3 separate regions of the Homo sapiens genome follow, and regions 2 and 3 are each linked to region 1. The links are contacts of gene promoters, found by promoter capture Hi-C in blood cells and fetal thymus (Javierre and others, 2016). All regions are on one chromosome and are shown on one strand. The core of a region is centred on a gene start or on the middle of the fragment in contact, and the rest is flanking DNA. Distances in the headings are between cores, read along the strand shown. Region 1 holds the start of RNF138 (ring finger protein 138). Region 2 has its middle 11 kb from the start of MAPRE2. Region 3 overlaps MAPRE2 (microtubule associated protein RP/EB family member 2).

What was found. Contacts are between HindIII fragments. The CHiCAGO score rates a contact against its expected background, and 5 or more counts as called.
Region 2: a fragment that was not itself captured here is called in contact with the fragment with the promoter of RNF138 in region 1 in 2 of 17 cell types (total CD8 T cells and total CD4 T cells); the score reaches 8.3 in total CD8 T cells.
Region 3: a fragment that was not itself captured here is called in contact with the fragment with the promoter of RNF138 in region 1 in 1 of 17 cell types (total CD4 T cells); the score reaches 5.5 in total CD4 T cells.

The regions. Positions count from the first base shown.
Region 1 is chr18:32,090,443-32,093,142 of GRCh38, forward strand. It overlaps RNF138 (ring finger protein 138), which reads left to right and starts at 1,432. Exons shown (of 8, transcript NM_016271.5): 1 at 1,432-1,793; 2 at 2,258-2,444. The coding sequence starts at 2,335. LOC124904278 (a long non-coding RNA gene) reads right to left here and starts at 1,503. Exons shown (of 2, transcript XR_007066327.1): 1 at 1,413-1,503; 2 at 833-1,060. It also overlaps a transcript of RNF125 not described here. RefSeq lists an enhancer at 1,131-1,180 and a silencer at 1,851-2,270. The HindIII fragment of the contact is 10,157 bases long and covers 1-2,700 here.
Region 2 is chr18:35,029,147-35,031,846 of GRCh38, forward strand. It overlaps a transcript of MAPRE2 not described here. Among named protein-coding and RNA genes, the nearest start is that of MAPRE2, 11 kb to the right of the region's middle. The HindIII fragment of the contact is 1,685 bases long and covers 494-2,178 here.
Region 3 is chr18:35,051,625-35,054,324 of GRCh38, forward strand. The region is part of intron 1 of MAPRE2 (microtubule associated protein RP/EB family member 2); the gene reads left to right. Among named protein-coding and RNA genes, the nearest start is that of MAPRE2, 12 kb to the left of the region's middle. The HindIII fragment of the contact is 2,526 bases long and covers 56-2,581 here.

The sequences.
Region 1 (2,700 bases), core at 182-2,681:
TAAGGAGGAAAAGCAACAAAAATACAAAATATAGTTTGGTAGAGGGAATTAGCTATTCATTGGACAAATTATTATTATTCTAGGAATCAATGCTTTTGAGATGTACATTAAAACCCATTTCCTCCATAAAGTTTTCTGTTAACTCTATATATTTCTAATCATTCCATTTCCTATCCTCATTATAGCCATCGTTTAATGCAAAATTTAATACTTTGGCAAATACCATTTTTTCTCTCTCATTCTGATAGATATGTAATAATGTAAACAGGTTGAGAGCAAAGTTCATGACATCTGCATAACACCTAACAATGCCAATGTCAACATAGACAATAAATGGCAGAATTGATTTAAATAGTCCCTTAAATGGCTTCTGTTTATTCATTTAGACCATGGGGGAGGGTTTTAACAAAGGATGGTAATAAAACCTTTCTTTTCTCTGAAGCTAATTGTAGATGCTGTATAATGTTCCAGATTTTCCTTAGCTTCTTTCACGTCATTGTGGATCCCATCTTATCGATTTATCCTTTTTTTGTTCTTCTTTTTTTTTGAGAGTCTCACTCTGTCGCCAGGGCTGGAGTGCAGCGGCGCGATCGCGGCTCACTGCAACCTCTGCCTCCCGGGTACAAGCGATTCTCGTGCCTCAGCCTCCCGAGTACCTGGGATTACAGGCTCCCACCACCATGTCCGGTTAATTTTTGTATTTTTAGTAGAGATGGGATTTCATCACGTTGGCCAGGCTGGTCTTGAACTCCTGACCTCAAGTGATCCAACCGCCTTCGCTTACCAAAGGGCTGGGATTACAGGTGTGAGCCACCGCGCCCGGCCTTTTTTCTTTCTTTTTTTTTTTTTTTTTTGAGACGGAATCTCACTCTGTTACGCAGGTTGGACCATCTTATAGATTATCAATTGTACAGATAATTGCACTCCGGCCTGGGAGACAGAGTGAGTACCTGTCTCAAAAAATAAAATAAAATAAAATAAAATTAAAAAAAACACTTAAATTAGTGAATAACCTTGGTGAAAAGCCACGTCCATGCTTCTACGGCATTTCTCTTCAAAGCTAAAAAAAAAAAGAAAAAATCAAAAATCAACCCAAAGGTGTAGTAGAAGACTGCATCTGCGACCGTATTTAAGCATCGGTCATGCTGTTAAAGGAGAAAGTGGACATCCTCTCAAGGAAACTTTAATCCTGCCCCCAAAGGATTAAAATCCCGTAACAAATATTTGTTTATAACACATCTTGACAAGATCAAAACATTCTGGTAGGGCAAATAGTAAAGACTAAATCTTGAACATTGACGAAAACTTCCTGAAAGGCCCAATGTATTTGACAGGAGAGGTAACTGGGGTCCCGGGCCTAGCGAGGCGGGGCGGGGAGGCGCAGGTGTCACCGCGGGCGCCCAGCTGCTTACGTCACAACCCGCGGAAGGCGCCGTGCGCCGGTTGCTATACAGGCCGCACTTCACACCCCGTGCCTCCCCGCCTCTCCTGGCTCCTCCGCCCAGATCCCCGGCGCTCCCGCGTTCGGTGACGGCCGGGTAGGCTGTAGGCAGCGCAATGCCAAGACAGAGCTGCTGGCGGCGGCGGGCGAATCTCCCTGCACCATGAGCCTCGGCTCCGGCCCCGTTAGGGGCCGATAAGCACAGCGCACGCCGCCCTCCATTTGCCCCGGGGCCTCGGCTGCGAAGATAGCGGCGGCCGGACAGGAAGCTCGAGGAAAGCGCTGGGCCGGGTCTCTACGAACACGTGAAGGAAAAGCAGCTCCGTCCACAACGCCGCTTCGGGGCTCCTAGGTGAGAGTCTCCCCGGCGGAAGCGTGGAGGGGCCGGGGTGCCGGGAAGCGGGGCGGGGAGGAAGCCGCGGACACGGGCTGGGCACTCGGGGCTCGGGGTCGGGGTGAGTAGAGGCGGAAAAGCAGTGAAAAGGGAGGCCTTGGGCGAAGACGGGGGCTGAGGGCGGGGCGCGAGCCCGCGCCTGGAGCCCGGTGAGGGCGTGGCCTAGAGCGTGAGGCCGCGTCCTGGGGCGGGGTGAGGGGCGAGCGGGGCGGGCCCACGGCATGCTGCGAGCCCAGCCTCCCGCCAAGCACCGTCCCCCATCCAGCCCCCTGTGGGAGGAGCCGTGGGAGGGGTCGCCTCTTGCCCGGCGCGTGCGGCAGTAGCGTCTCTGCGTTCGGCCCCGCCCTACCCAGGGCCCCGCCCCCTTCCTGGCGCGCGCTGTATCCTGATGCGATCCCCCTCCCCCCTCCGGGTTCATGTAGGGAGTCGGGCCCCGGGCCGCCACCGTCACCTCGGCCGCTGCCGCTGTCGCCATCGCCTTGTTTCCCCATCCCCCGCCATGGCCGAGGACCTCTCTGCGGCCACGTCCTACACCGAAGATGATTTCTACTGCCCCGTCTGTCAGGAGGTGCTCAAAACGCCCGTGCGGACCACGGCCTGTCAGCACGTGTGAGTAGACGCCCCCTCCCCCTCGCGGAGCCGGGTTGTCGCTTAGGCCCGGCCTCCGGCCCGGGACCCCGGGCTGCCGCCTGGCGGGAACCGAGCCCGCCGCGGCCTGCCCGAGCGTCGCTGCCCCGCGAGGTCCCGTTCCCCGCCCCTCAGAGTCCCGGGGCGGCCTTTTCCTCAGCCTCGGGGCCCGCTCCCCGCGTCCAGCCCCCTCAGCCCAAGCTCCCGCTCTCCCGCTCTCCCGCTCTCCCGCTCTCCC
Region 2 (2,700 bases), core at 86-2,585, 2.9 Mb after region 1:
ATTTCTGATGGGAAACTTAGTCTTACTTCATGATTTCCAGTTGCATTTTTTTTCCTAATGAAATAAGCTGCTTTAATTTTCTTTTTAAAAATTTTATTTGGATGAGGTCAGAAAATGAGGAATTTCTCTTCCATTACTCACACTGCTTTCCAGCTGCCGGCCTCATGTTCCCTTGACACGCTGTCGAGGAGCCATCCAGAAGCCATAGCTCTGCCATGGTACACACCAGACTTGACAGAGAAGTTCCAGGCTCAGGAAGACGCTTCCTTCCAATGTCCCTGGTTGCCACTTGATGGCCTGGGTTCTGAGTAGCTCTGGAACTCTGGAAGTCCCTGGTACCTGATGGAATGACCATTGCCCCACTTTCTCCTGACTTCCTTTGTATGTATATTAAGGAGTTGCCACTCAGCTTGCACTCTTTAATATCAAAGTCAGAAATAAAGCCCAGTGAGTTAGTTGATTTTTAAGAACCCTAAGGAAATCTTCTCTGGGAAGCTTCTGAATCGTCTGCAAGATAATTTATTTGTTAGCAGTACTTGGAGTCTCTTCATTTCTCTTGCCACCCAACTGAGCCCAAGGTGCCTTTTAATCCCTTTTAGCTGTCCTATGCAGTCACTTCAACAAGATGCATTTTATTTTAAGATGGAAATAAAATAGAGAAAGGAAATAGAGGAATTTCATAAAATTGGACATAGACACGTTTTAACGAGAGCACTCAAATAGACATGTCTGTATCTGGATGGTTGAATTATAACAGTCTTGGCATAGTGAAAATGAAAGCAGATTGTAGCTTTGAATACAAATACCAAAAAAATGCCTGCAGTTTCCTTTCCCTCCAGAAGGTATCAAAGAAATGGACATTGCTAGCTGACGCTTACTGAGAAATAAAATAGCTAATCACTATATAAGGACAAGAAAATTATTTTTTTCTCTATCAATCACATATACTGCTAACACCAAATCCTAGCATTTCTTCCTCCTTCCCCCTCCCTTTTTCTTAACCATAATTTACAGCTCCTCTCCCTCCATTTCTTTCAATCTCTCACCCTCATGGATACTGCTATCCTGTACAGCCTCCCATCCCTGGGTCCTTTTTATTCTCTCTGTCTCTCAGCCCTTGTATGTTTTTATTTCCTTGCTTCCTACACGGAAGTGCCGTTTTATGGCAGCAGTCTCTTGCCTCTGCAACCATCAGCTATCTCATCCCTGCCACTCCCCACCCTGGATTCTGCATTCTTCCTTCCAGGTTAATCAGACCTTAGTGGAAGGTAGACTGAGCTAGGGAAAAAGAATGACATGTTTGACATCTGGCAAGTGTGTTTGTGCTCAGCTCTGCCACTTCCTGTCTGGTTATTTGGCTAAGTTATTGAACTAGTTACCTCCTGTGACAATTGGGACTTAGAATAGCCCCCTTTCTTGTGAGAATAAAGTACCTCCTCATTGTTAAGCATAGCACTTGGCCCATAAAAAGTATTCAAATATTAGGTGTTGCTATTAATGTGATTAGAGAATATTCCACATCTCTGTTGCCACTACTAACACTCCTGCAAATGCCTGGTTTCTAACTTTGGTTTTAAGCCAAGTTCTTTACAACAGACTTTAAAAGCCCTGCACATTCTGGTTTCTCTGTGATCTTTCTGACCTTATCTTCTACAGTTATCTCTCCCATCCCCACAATACGCACACATTCACACTCACTGTGCTACATACATGTGACCTGACTTCCTTAATGTTTCTTGAACAAATCATGCTCCTACCTCAGGGCCTTTGCACTTTCTGTTGGCTCTACCTGAAATATTCTTCTGATATCACAGGTCTATGTCCCTCACCTCTCTCAGGTCATCGATTAAAGATTATCTTTTCAGGAATGTCTACCCTGGTCACCCCATTTAAAATTACAACACCCTTCCTCTGCAGTCCAAGTCCTCCTTCCTTGCTTTAGTTGTCTCTATAGCATTTGCCACCATCTGACACACTACATATTTTACTTATATATTGTCTGTCTCCTGACCCTACCACATACACTTGCTCATACACTCAAGTGTAAGTTCAGGGAATTTTGTCTACAAATTTCTGCATCTCTGATGTCTAGAATTGTTCCTAGCACATAGTAAGTTCTCAATAAATATTTGTAGAATGAATGATTGAGGACTAATTAAAATATTACTATCTTAATGAAGCTTTTCTAGTGTCCCCAGGCCTGACTACTTTCTTTTCTATATTCCTAATACTTAATACACTTTTCATTATAACTTTTATCACATTGTATTTTTATGGAAAACACATTTAAAGCTCTTAAATTTAGCCAGATGGTATAATTCAAAAGTACATTTTTGTTTAATAGACTGAAACCTCACATTGTACAGATTTGATTGAATGATTACAGAAATCATAATGCTCTGAGTATTTTTAAATTGCATTCACATCATGTTCTATGAGTTATTCTACAAAATTAAATCCAAGCTTGAGAAAATCTAAGAAAAAGCAGATTAGAAATAAATTCCAACACAGAGAGAAATCTTGTCTCATGCAATGGCATGTTCTGTGTTTTCACATCATGGACACCTTGCTATTTTGCTAGCAAGTATGAGACTTAAAAATTCTGCCTTTTGAGCATAAATAATCTGCAAAGACAAGTAATCTCAAAAGTCAATTCTAGAGGAGCATACCTGTGCATGTTGGTTTTGAAGAGGCTTTCTT
Region 3 (2,700 bases), core at 69-2,568, 3.0 Mb after region 1:
CTCAAAGTGCACAGCCAGGAAGTTGCTTGAAGAGGCAGTGAGGTATAGTGGGCAAAGCTTGGCTCTGGTGTGAGACTTTTACTTTCTGTCCCAGCTCCATCCCTTTCTAGGGCAACATTTTTTTAGCCTCTCTAAGCCTCATTTTCTTACCGTGCATATGGAAATAATAGTAGCATCAACTTCCCAGGGTTCTTATGCAGATTAAATGTGTTACAGAACATAAGGTGTGCCAAACGGTGCCTGGTGCAAAGTAAATGCCTCAAAGAATGTTAGCTAGTATTATTGCTTGCAGCTTAAATCTACTCTTTTACCCTGTATTGATAAAAATCTATAATCTTTTTGTTCTAAGTACCCTGTACAATACTTTGCACATAGCAGATGTTCATTAAAAGTTCAAATTGAACCTGGAAAAAAGTCAAACAAATTATACTACAGTCTTTTTTCCCCCTCATCAACTTTATTAAGAATTTATGTACAGTAAACTGCAGCCATTTAAAGTGTCTGAGTCAGAGTTTTGGCAGTGTGTCCACCCTGAAGCCATCACCACAGTCAAGATGCAGAACATTTCCATCACCCCCAAAAGACTCCTTGTACCCTTTGCAGTCCAAATCTTCTCTGCCCAAAGCCCCAGGAGCCAGTGATCTGCTTTCTGTCACCACAGATTAGATTACATTTTATATAAATGGGATCACAGAGAATGCACTCATTAGTGTCTGACTACTTTGACTCAGCACAATGATTTTAAGATTCATCCATATGGGATGTCTCAGTAGTTCATCACTCTTTATTGCTGAGTAGTATTTCATTGTATGGCTATACCATATTTTGTTTATCTGCTCACCAGTTGATGAACATTTATGTTTCCAGTTTTTAGGAATTATGAAGCAAGTTTCTATGAATATTGTTATACAAGTCTTTGTGGAGGTGTTTTCATTTCTCTGGGGAAAATACTTAGGAGTGGAGTGATTGGGTCATATGGCTGGTGTTTAACTTTTTGAGAAACTGTTTGGCAAACAGTTGTCCAAAATGGTTGTACCATTTTACATTCCTAGCAGCACAGTATGAGAGTTCTGATTGTTTCACATCCTTGGCAACACTTACTATCAGTCTCTTAAATGTTGGCCATCCTTATGGATGTAGAATGGTATCTCATTGAGATTTTAATTTCTATTTTCATGATGACTAATGATGGGTATGTTTTCATGTGCATATTGGCCATTTGTGTGTCTTCTGTAGTAAAGTGTTCAAATCTTTTTCCATTTAAAAAAATAGGTTATCTTTTTAAATAGAATTATACACATATGTTTTGCATAATAATATAGTCTTGAATTGTATTTTAATATGTACAGGTCTTATATTCTTAACTTGAATATAAAGTCCCCCCCACACACACACACAAAAAGACCTAGTCTTTGTTCACAATGACTTTTACAGCAATTAGTTACATGGTCCATCCTCAGTAAGTACATATTAAATGAGTCTATTTAGCCCGGGCACTGTGGCTCATGCCTGTAATCCCAGCACTTTGGGAGGCTGAGGTGGGTGGATCACTTGAGGTCAGGAGTTTGAGATCAGCCTGGCCAACATGGTGAAACCCCATCTCTACTAAAAATACAAAAAATAGCTGGGAGTGGTGGCACTTGCCTGTAATCCCAGCTACCTGTGAGGCTGAGGCAGGAGAATCACTTGAACCCAGGAGGTGAAGGTTGCAGTGAGCCAAGATCACGCCACTGCACTCCAGGCTAGGCAACAGAGCGAGACTCCATCTCATAAAAAATAAAATAAAAATAAAAAAACAGTATTTAATATGTAAATAGAGGGTAAAATAGTAACAGAATAATTATTTTAGCTGAGAAAAAAAAAACACTGAATCTACCTTAGAAGTTTTATATGAACATGTTACATTTGGGAGGTAGTCTTGGTAGATAGGAGATGCTCTTCTAGTTCTGTGGAGAAGAACCCTATAATTAAGACATTCTTTTCTTTGTATTGTGTGTCCCCTTCTTGCTAGATTCCACTATTAAATTTAAGAGGAAAGTGTGCATAGAAAATTTTTTTTCTTTAATTGTAACAAGGATACCATATGTTCTCACAAGTGGCAGCTAAATGATGAGAACTAATGAACACAAAGAAGAGAACAACAGGCATTGGGGTCTACTTGAGAGGGGAAGGTAGAAGGAGAGAGAGGAGCAGAAAAAATAACTAATGGTTACTGGGCTTAATACCTGGGTGATGAAATAATCTGTACAGCAAACCCCCATGACATGAGTTTACCTATATAACAAACCTTCACATGTACCCCCAAACCTAAAGTAAACATTTTAAAAACTAAGTAAATGAAAAGAGGGAGGAAAAATAAATGTAACAAGGAGCCATTTGCATGCTTCCAAAATTTTGCCAAGAATAGCCAAAGCGTTGGATGCCCCCCTTTTAAAAATTTTTGTGGTGAAGATCCCTAAACTTGATCTCTTTCCATTCCCATTCCATCTAATTTGGCAGTTTTGTTGTTGTTTTGCTCCTGACTTCTCTAACTCCCTAAGAAGAAATTGTCTCAAGTAAAATTTAGAGACTGGGAAACAAAAGCTTAGTAAGGTCATAGGTTTGCCTAAAAGGATCGACTGAGGGACCTCGTTTTGGAGAAGATGAGGATCCTTGGCTCCCAGAATCTGTTCAGAAATCTTTCCAGCTAAAAGCCAGTTT